3 separate regions of the Homo sapiens genome follow, and all the other regions are linked to region 3. The links are contacts of gene promoters, found by promoter capture Hi-C in human tissues and cell types (Jung and others, 2019). All regions are on one chromosome and are shown on one strand. The core of a region is centred on a gene start or on the middle of the fragment in contact, and the rest is flanking DNA. Distances in the headings are between cores, read along the strand shown. Region 1 has its middle 16 kb from the start of SYDE2. Region 2 overlaps LPAR3 (lysophosphatidic acid receptor 3). Region 3 holds the start of MCOLN3 (mucolipin TRP cation channel 3).

What was found. The method cuts DNA at HindIII sites, captures the fragments that hold promoters and counts their contacts. A contact is called where the count stands out against the background at its distance.
Region 1: a contact is called between a fragment that was not itself captured here and the fragment with the promoter of MCOLN3 in region 3, in 1 of the 25 tissues and cell types used here (small bowel).
Region 2: a contact is called between a fragment that was not itself captured here and the fragment with the promoter of MCOLN3 in region 3, in 1 of the 25 tissues and cell types used here (IMR-90 fibroblasts).

The regions. Positions count from the first base shown.
Region 1 is chr1:85,215,535-85,218,496 of GRCh38, reverse strand. No RefSeq gene overlaps it. Among named protein-coding and RNA genes, the nearest start is that of SYDE2, 16 kb to the right of the region's middle. The HindIII fragment of the contact is 3,111 bases long and covers 1-2,910 here.
Region 2 is chr1:84,857,923-84,860,950 of GRCh38, reverse strand. All of the region lies in intron 2 of LPAR3 (lysophosphatidic acid receptor 3), which reads left to right. Among named protein-coding and RNA genes, the nearest start is that of LPAR3, 34 kb to the left of the region's middle. The HindIII fragment of the contact is 5,926 bases long and covers 1-3,028 here.
Region 3 is chr1:85,047,007-85,049,788 of GRCh38, reverse strand. It overlaps MCOLN3 (mucolipin TRP cation channel 3), which reads left to right and starts at 1,289. Exons shown (of 13, transcript NM_018298.11): 1 at 1,289-1,393. RefSeq lists silencers at 888-1,027, 1,058-1,807. The HindIII fragment of the contact is 9,392 bases long and covers 1-2,782 here.

The DNA.
Region 1 (2,962 bases), core at 106-2,605, 170 kb before region 3:
GCAGTGAGCTGAGAATGTGCCATTGCACTCCAGCCTGGGCAGCAAGAGAGAAGCTCCACCTCAAAAAATAAAAAAATAAAAATAAAAATAAAGCAAAATTTTAACATTCTCTGATGGGGTTTCAACATATGTAGATATAAGAGATAAGACTATTATAAAGCAGGGAGGGCAAGAGGACCTGTATGTTGGGAGGTTTCTATATTCCACTTGAAGTGGTAAAATATTGATTTTAAGTGGACTGTGGAAAGTTAAGTGTGTATATTATTCCCCAGATGAACTAATTAAAAAAAAAAACTATACAAAGAGATAGAGTCCAAATTGCCATACATCAAAATGGAGTATGAAAAATTATTCAAAAACCCCAAAGAATAGAGAAAATGGGAAACAATAACAGAGAGAACACACAGAAAACAAATAATAAAAGGGTGGACCTAAATCCAAACATATGAATAATTTTCATTTTTTATTTTTTTTGAGACAGAATCTTGCTCTGCTGCCCAGGCTGGAGTGCAGTGGCGTGATCACAGCTCACTGCAGCCTCTGCCTCCTGGGCTGAAGTGATCCTCCCACCTCAGCCTCCTGAGTAACTGGGGCAACAGGCACATGCCACAACACCCAGCTAAGTTTTGTATTTTTTGTAGAGACAGAGTTTCACCATGTTGCCCACGCTGGTCTCAAACTCCTGGGCTCAAGTGATCCACCTGCCTCTGTCTCTCAAAGTGTTGGAATTACAGGCGTGAGCCACTACCCTAGCTGAAACATATCAATAATTTTACTAAATTTTTGCAGATTGAACACTCCAATCAAATTTATTTCTAGTGTCATTTCTCTTTTATCTGAAGAACTTTATTTAAAATTATTTTAGAGCTGGTCTACTGGCAATGAATTATCTTAGTTTTCCTTCCTCTGAGACTATTTTTATTTCACTTTATTCCTGAAAGAGTGCTATGGGGGTATATAATTCTGAGTTTCTAGCTCTTTTCTTTCAACATTTCCTTCTGATCTGCAAGGCTCAAATCTGCAGTCATTGAAATCACTGTCCCTCTTATAGGTATGCATCATTTTTCTCTAGCTGCTTTTAAGATTATTTTTCTTTGTCTTTAGTTTTTAGGAGGTTGATTATAATTTCTGGGCATGGATTTCTTTGGCTTTATTTTCTTCAGAGTTCACTGAATTTTTAAAAATCTCTATGTTTATGTCTTTTGCTACACTTGTGAAGTTTTCAGTCATTACATCTTCAAATATTTTTCCAGCACCATACTCTTTTTCCTTCTGGAACTCTAATTACATAAGTTAGCCTTTGTTTTTTGTTTTGTTGTTGTTGCTGTTGTTGTTTTTTGAGACAGGTTCTCATTCTGTCACTCAGGCTGGAGTACAGTGGTATGATCACAGCTCACTGCAGCCTCAACCTCCCAGGCTCAAGTGGTCCTCCTGCCTCCTGAACAGCTGGGACTACAGGCATACACCACTATATCTAGCAAATATTTGTAATTTTTCTAGAGATGAGGTTTTTCCATGTTGCCCAGGCTGGGAAAGTTATACTTTTTGTTAGTAACTCACAGGCCCCTAACACTGCATTCATTTTCTAAAAGGAATTTTTTTTCTCTGTTTTTCAGATTAAAAGCTTTCCTTCTTTTCTTTTTCTTTCTCTGTCTTTCTTTCTTTCTCTCTTTCTTTTCCTTTCTTTTCTCATTCTTTTTTTTTTTTTTTTTTTGACAAAGTTCTCATTATGTTGCCCAGGATGGTCTCAAGCTCCTGAGCTTAAATGAGCCTCCCACTTCAGTCTTCCAAAGTGCTGGAATTACAGATGTGAGCCACTGTGCCTGGCCCAGATTGGAAAATTTATATTGACATATCTTTAAGTTCATTGATTCTTTCCTCTGTCATCTCCATCTTTTTTTTGAGCCTATTGAGTAAAAGTGGTTTTTTTTGGCCATTGTATTTTTCAATTCTAATATTTTCATTTGGTTCTTCTTCATATCTTCTTTTTTTCTGAGACTTTCTATTTTTCCATTTGTTTTAAGAGTGTTTGCAAGTGTTTGGTAAAGCATTTATATAATAGCTGTTTTAAAGTCTTTGTCAGATAATTCCAACATCTGTGTTAAGTTTGTATTAGTGTCTGTTATCATTTCCTAGGCAAGCTAAGATTTTCCTGGTTCCTTGTACACCAAGTAAATTTTAAATTACTATTATTTGTAGAGATGAGGTCTTGCTACGGTGCCCAGGCTGGTCTTGAACTCCTGACCTCAAGTGATCCTCCCACTTAAGTCTTCCAAAGTGCTGGGATTACAGGCATAAGCCATCATGCCTGACTACCTCCAAGTAATTCTGGATTGTCTCTTGGACATATTGAATATCATATTCTGAAACTCTGGGTCTTATTTACATTCTACAGTGAATGTTGATTTTTTTGGTTTGTTTTTTCAGCAGACAGTTGACCCGGTTAGGTTAAGGCTGCAAGTTTCAACCCACTTTCTGTGAGCTGTGGTTCTAACGTCAGCTCAGCTTTTTAAGCCTCTGTTGTGCTATTCAGATCTGTCCCATATATAGGTCATCTGGTGGCCATTTTGGGCCCTGGATGGTGGCACATTTGTTAGTTTGGTTTTCAAAGTCTTTGGTGTGCTGATTAGAATCAGATTCATGTATGCAGAGCTCACTGATGAGTTCAGGAGTTCATAATCCATCTCCCCAGTTTCTATAGTTCTTTCCAGTCCCCTGGTGCTCCCTGTTTTTGTTCTTCGGCTACCAAGCTGAGGCTTTAGTTACCCATCTCTGCTGCACCCTTCTATAACTGTGCTTGCATACAGGGCCAAGTAGCAGAAGGATGGAGAGAGAGAGAAAAAGGCAATGGGGGCTTGCCCCACTCTCTTGGGGCCACAGTTCCACCATTCAGAGAGAAAGTTTCCTTCTCACAGAGTGTTGGCTCCTGCAGGTTCCTATTGTGGTCCCCACCATCACCCCT
Region 2 (3,028 bases), core at 246-2,745, 190 kb after region 3:
CCTGGCCAACATGGTGAAACCCCGTCTCTACTAAAAATACAAAAATTAGCTGGGTTTGATGGTAGGCACCTGTAATTCCAGCTACTCAGGAGGCTGAGGCAGGAGAATTGGTTGAACCCAGGAGGTGGAGGTTGCAGTGAGCCAAGATGGCGCCCCCGCACTCCAGCCTGGGTGACAGTGAGACTCCGTATCAAAAAAAAAAAAAAAAAAAAAAAATTAAATCCTAAAGTTTCTTACGAACCCTCTTCTTTTACATATTAGAAAGTCAGTCTCTAAGTACATATTAACTGTCTATTAAACAGTATCTAAGAGGTACATGGTTGCATGAATTCAGTGAGCTTAATCTTATTTCAGAAGAGGAAAGGATGGACAGGGGCTGTTGAGTGTGGAGACGGCTTCTTAATGGGCTGGGATGTAATCTGGAAGGATAGGTGGGATTTGCATGGGCTGGAGGAAGACACATTCTAAGAGGGAGAAATGGCATACTCAGAAGTGTGATGATAGAAACATTTAAAGCTTGTGCATTACCATGAGGAAGGCCCCACAGAGTACAAATACTTGCTGTGGTGCGGTGGAAAAATAGCTCACCTGTGAACCAGCAAAGTTTAGTTGGCTATCCTCTTTGGAAGGAGAGTAGACCAGATGACCTTTGTGTTCCTTTCCAGCTTTGGGATTTTGGTTGAACACAAAAGCTAACAGCATGGGGATTCAGACTCTTTCCTTGAGGGTAGTGGTGGTAGTGATGATGGTGATGTGAGTTTTCAATCTGTGTGTGCATGATTGGAAAGGCATCAAGGCATCATGTTCCCGTTTCAGCAGCCCTGAGGCAAAATGCTTGCTCACTTCTGGGTTAGAATGTGTGATGGGGCCCTTTATGTGAAAAAAGTTGCTTATTGAATGTTCTCATTGAAAAGACATCGGAGACATACGATCCTGCTTTCCAAAGAGCACCAAGGCCCTGCCTAAGAAAGGGTTTTGAAATCTTACTTGTCAACAAGCCTAATCAGCTACAGCAACCAAACACACAAGAAACCCCACATGGAAACGTCTAATTTATTGTCAAACAACACACCATGTGAACTGTGCACACAGAAATGTTTTGTTATTTCCCAGAAAATGGGCTGGACTTTGCTTTATTTTGCAGTGTCTTAAAATACAAGAGAAAAGAAAGAGGGAAGGGACTTGCAAACCATTCTTTTGAAGTCTTCCATGAACCCTCCTGTCCTTTAGTGATGTTTTTCAAACTGTAAGTTTTGATGCACTGATGAGATTGTAAGCAACACTTTTTAAAATGACATAAAAAGAAGAGAAAATGTCAGAGTGTGTTGCATTTAACAGGTATCAATATTGTTTTATAACCTTTCTTTGCGTGCCTGTGTGTGTGCTGGGTTGTGATATAAAATGTATTTCCTATCATGAGTTATCGTCAAGAACGTTTGAAAAACCATGATCTTGAGGGTCAAGGTTTATTTTTCTGCCAGAAAGCACTGAACTCTTTTAAAATATGAAACATTATCGTTGTTAAGGGACTTAGGGCTTGTGGTAATTAAAACAGGGAGCTGGTTGTTTTTCTTCTCACTTCTTCCTCCCTCCTCTCCACTTAGATTGATGCTAAATCATCCTCTTTTGTCTCTTAGGGGAGAGAGGAAGAAGGCAAAGTAGCAGTAAGCAACGAAACGATAGCTCAAGTTCTCATGCTAGGAGGAAATGGGTGAAAATTAAGTACCATAAAGAGCCTTGCCAGAGTACTAATAATAATCACACATGATGTTTCTGCAGTACTGTGTCTTTTTCAGTTTTAATACACTGTTCTCTTTGGTCTCATGGAAATCCTGCCAAGCAAGTAGTTAAGGTATTATTATCCGATTTTCCTGCAACTCCCCTAGATGTATCCTATACTCAAGCTATAATGAATTATTTGCGCTTCCCCCATTTTGTCTCTTTAAGCCTTTGCAGATGTTGGGATACCTTTCCCCTAGTTCTGCCTGGGAAACTCCCATTCACCTTGTAAGACCTAACTCAAAGGTCTATCTTCTTTGAATCTTCCTTTGCCCTACTGGAGTAAATCTGATTACTGCCTCCCTTGGGCTGCCTGTCAGTCTTGTCCATACAACAATCAACGTACTTAATTGTTTACATGCCTTTATTTTGCACTAGAGTATACACCCTTCGAAGTCAGGGACTGTACCTTATTTATCTGTCTCTACATATCTAACAGCTAGTACTCTCAGCTAGCACCCTATCTGGCACACACTTGTTGAGATGTACTACAATGAATAAATGAGGAAATTGAGGCTGAGGGGAAGGTAAGTGGCTTTTCAAATGCTGGAGCTAAAAGCAGAACCCAGGTTTCCTCACTTCCATCTTGGCCTTAGATGGGCTCTGGCTGAGACATGCCTGTCAGGTAGACAAGGGAGGGAAATAGGTAAGAATCGTGTTTTTTAGGTTTTTTTTTTTTTTTTTTTTTGAGACAGTCTCGCCCTGTCGCCCAAGGCTGGAGTTTCAGTGGTGTGATCTCCGCTCACTGCAACCTCCGCCTCCTGGGTTCAAGTGATTCTTGTGCCTCAGCCTCCTGAATAGTTGGGATTATAGGCATGTGGCACCATGCCCAGCTACTTTTCTTATGTTTTTAGTAGAGATAGAGTTTCGCCATGTTGCCCAGGCTGGTCTGAAACTCCTGGCCTCAAGTGATCTGCCCATCTCGGCCTCCCAAAGTGCTGGGATTGCAGGCATGAACCACCATGCCCGGCCCTTGTTTTATCTTATAATTTTATAATATGAGAAGCCGAGGTCTCTGAAGGTTAAGCGATAGTATTATCTTGGGAAGGAGAAAAGAAATGAGCATTTTTTGAATGCTTCTTATGATGAGGTCAGCGTGTTCCAGGCTTTTAGGATTTTATTTCACTTAACCCTCATAACAACTCTATGCAGATCTGTTTTTAAGACAAGGAGATTCGAGTGGACTTAGCCTCTTGCCCACACACCCGTATTGATAAAATTATTAATAGTTAATATTCATTGTGGGGTA
Region 3 (2,782 bases), core at 40-2,539:
ATAAAAAAGAAAAGGGGTTCAGAGAAGGTAAGTAACTCCCTAGAGACCAATAAGTGGCACAGAAGGGAATTTGGGCCCTCATCTGTCTGACTCCAAAACCTGGCTTTATCTATTCACCGGTCCTTATAACTCAGCTAAAACGAGGGTTAAGCAAGTGCCATCATTTATGACTGTGAACCTCTTCAAAGTTCAGATTGTTCCTGAACAATCAAGCATTTCAAACTCTTACCATCAAGTAAGGAGATAGCGTTACATCGTGTGTAGGCATATGGGGATTAAAGATTACATTATATTTTCCAAATTGCACTTGAGAATTGACTGTGCCAATTATATCCTTTCTGGGTATCTACCTTGTTCACAGTATGTGGGATCCAGGTTGAGGAACAGCATAAAATTCTTGTACCCTGTTGCAAAAATTTATTAGTAATCCATGCATACTGGTTTAGGATTTGAAAACAGGTTTTATAAAAGGTTTGCTAGGTATCGATCTAATTTCAGGAATACCCTAGTAGGGAAATTCAGTGACCTTTACAAATTTACCCGTGGCCAAAAAAAAAAAATAAGTAAAAATTAAAAATCAGAACACATCCAAAGTAATTATAATTAAAATTAACCAAAGTTCCTGATCCAATCCTGATAAGGGGTATTAGGTTTAATATTTACAGATAATTTATGAAGAAAAAGATTACGGTTCAAAGTCTACTTCAGGTATTTCTATTTACATTTCTTGGAAAAGTTTCCCAGGGCTCTTTCTGCCCCAGCCGCCAATCTACAGAAGAGTCTAGTCGACTGTCCACTCATTTCACAGCACTTGTCTGAAACTAGAAGACCCAGGGAGGGAACAAGGTTCAGGCTTGAAACGCTAAGACATTCAAGATTTCACCTTGTATGCAAAAATCAGAATGGGAGGCTGCAGCGGGGCCTCACACTCACCGGAGCTAGGCGCTATAGATCCCGCACCCGCGGAGCCCGGCAACCACCTGAGGGGCCTTGGCCAGGAGGGGGTGGCCCCCCGGCGCCGGCGGCAGCTCCGGAGCAAACCTGGCAAACCCGAGCAGGGCGGTGCGGGTTGCTCAGGGAGAAAATGAAGGGAGTGATAGGGTGGGGGTGGCAGGGAACGGGCACAACGCCGGCTTCCTCCGGACGGCCTCCTGCGTCCCACCTGTGCTCCTGAAAAGCGGCCCCCGACAGGGCGCGGCGGGAACCCGAGCCGGGAGTAGGGTCACGAGTTAAAGCGGCGGGGGCGGGAGGATGCGCGGGCGGCGGACGGGGCGCTCTCCTCCCGTCTGACTCTGGGCGGAGCGGGGCTCGAGGCTGCTGGAGTCGCTCGCTGACTCGCCCTGCGCCCTCGCCGCGGACACCGGAGCTGCGGCCGCTCCCCGCTGTCCCCCAGGTGAGCCCGCGGGGCGCTGCCCCGGGGCGTCGGGTGTCGCGGGAACGGCGCCCGCGGCGCACAGGGAGGGCCGGGGAGGCCGGGAGGCAGCGAGCTGTCGGGGACGCCGCGGGAAGGCCGGGCCGGGCAGTCGGCGCCATGGAGGGCAGGCGGGCTGGAGCTGGGCGCGAGATGCAGCTGTTCCGCGCCGCCCCCAAGCCGCCCGCAGGTCAGTGGAGGAGCGCGCCTGCCGGGCCTGCCCGGGGCTGGGCGGGTGGGGGTGCTCTGCTCCTCGGTCCCCCTCCAGGCCGCCGCCCACCTGTGGCCAGGGCTCAGAGGGCTGGAAGCCACCCCCGCCCGGAGCCCCTGGGCTGGAAGGCTTGGATGCCGGCCGGGGCTCCAGATGGCCTTGACGCGGCTCGGCTGGCCCCTTTCAAGGCGGACTGTCCCCCTGTTAGAGGTGGGGGCGGCTGGAAGTGGGGGCTCAGGCCCGGGTCGCTGCGCTGGCTGAAAGCAGCCGCCAGCCGGGCTGCGGCCGTCTGAGCTCCACGGCAGTGCCCGGGGATGGCAGCGACCGCTCTGGGACATCGCTGCAACCCTGCAGATCTTTCTCGCACACACTACCCAACAAAAGTGTCAACCCTTGTTGTTTGTTTGTTTGAAAAAAAAAGAAGACTGGAGAGACTAAAGTTTTGTGTCTGGTGAAGTGGGAAAGCGCTTCTGAAAAAACGAGGTTGCATAACTTTGTCGCCAACTGGGAGGCCTTTGCTATTTATACACTCCCGGGCTTTCTCCAATTTTCTACAGCTTACTCCAATCAAGCCTCTGCCCGCCAGGAACAGGTAACCTGTGTGTGTCCGTTTGCTCCTTCTAAGAGCATGCCTGATAGATACTTCGGTAGCCTCTCCGGATGGCCCCTTCGTCGGGTAGCCTCTCCTGATGGGGTCCTTCGCCCACCCTGCCTCCCGCGCCGGCGCTCCGGGTGAATGTCAAGGGTGGCTGGCTGCGAATACCTCCTTCAGCTGCTGGGGTTCCCGACAGTTTGCAGTTTTTAAAAGTGCACCCTCGGAAGGGCTTTTCAGACTGGGTAAACCTGACTTTTCCAAGGTCAGCATCTGGTCCTGGTGAATGAAATGTCTACCGGGACAACTCGTTGTGATGTGCTGAATATATGCTGGTTGGCTTGTTTTCTCTTTGTTCCTGTGGATTACTGTACATGGTGTGTGGCTAGTTTGTTTAAAATTTAATTTTCCCTGTATCAAAGTGGAAAGCGCTTAGTGTCAATATACAACTCACCAACATGCTTATTAACAGCTTCATCATTATGTTGGTGTTCATATGCGAGCTTTGGTCAACATGAAATCATCTGCGTTTTAAGTCCTATAGATAAAGTCTCCTTAAATGCTGGTT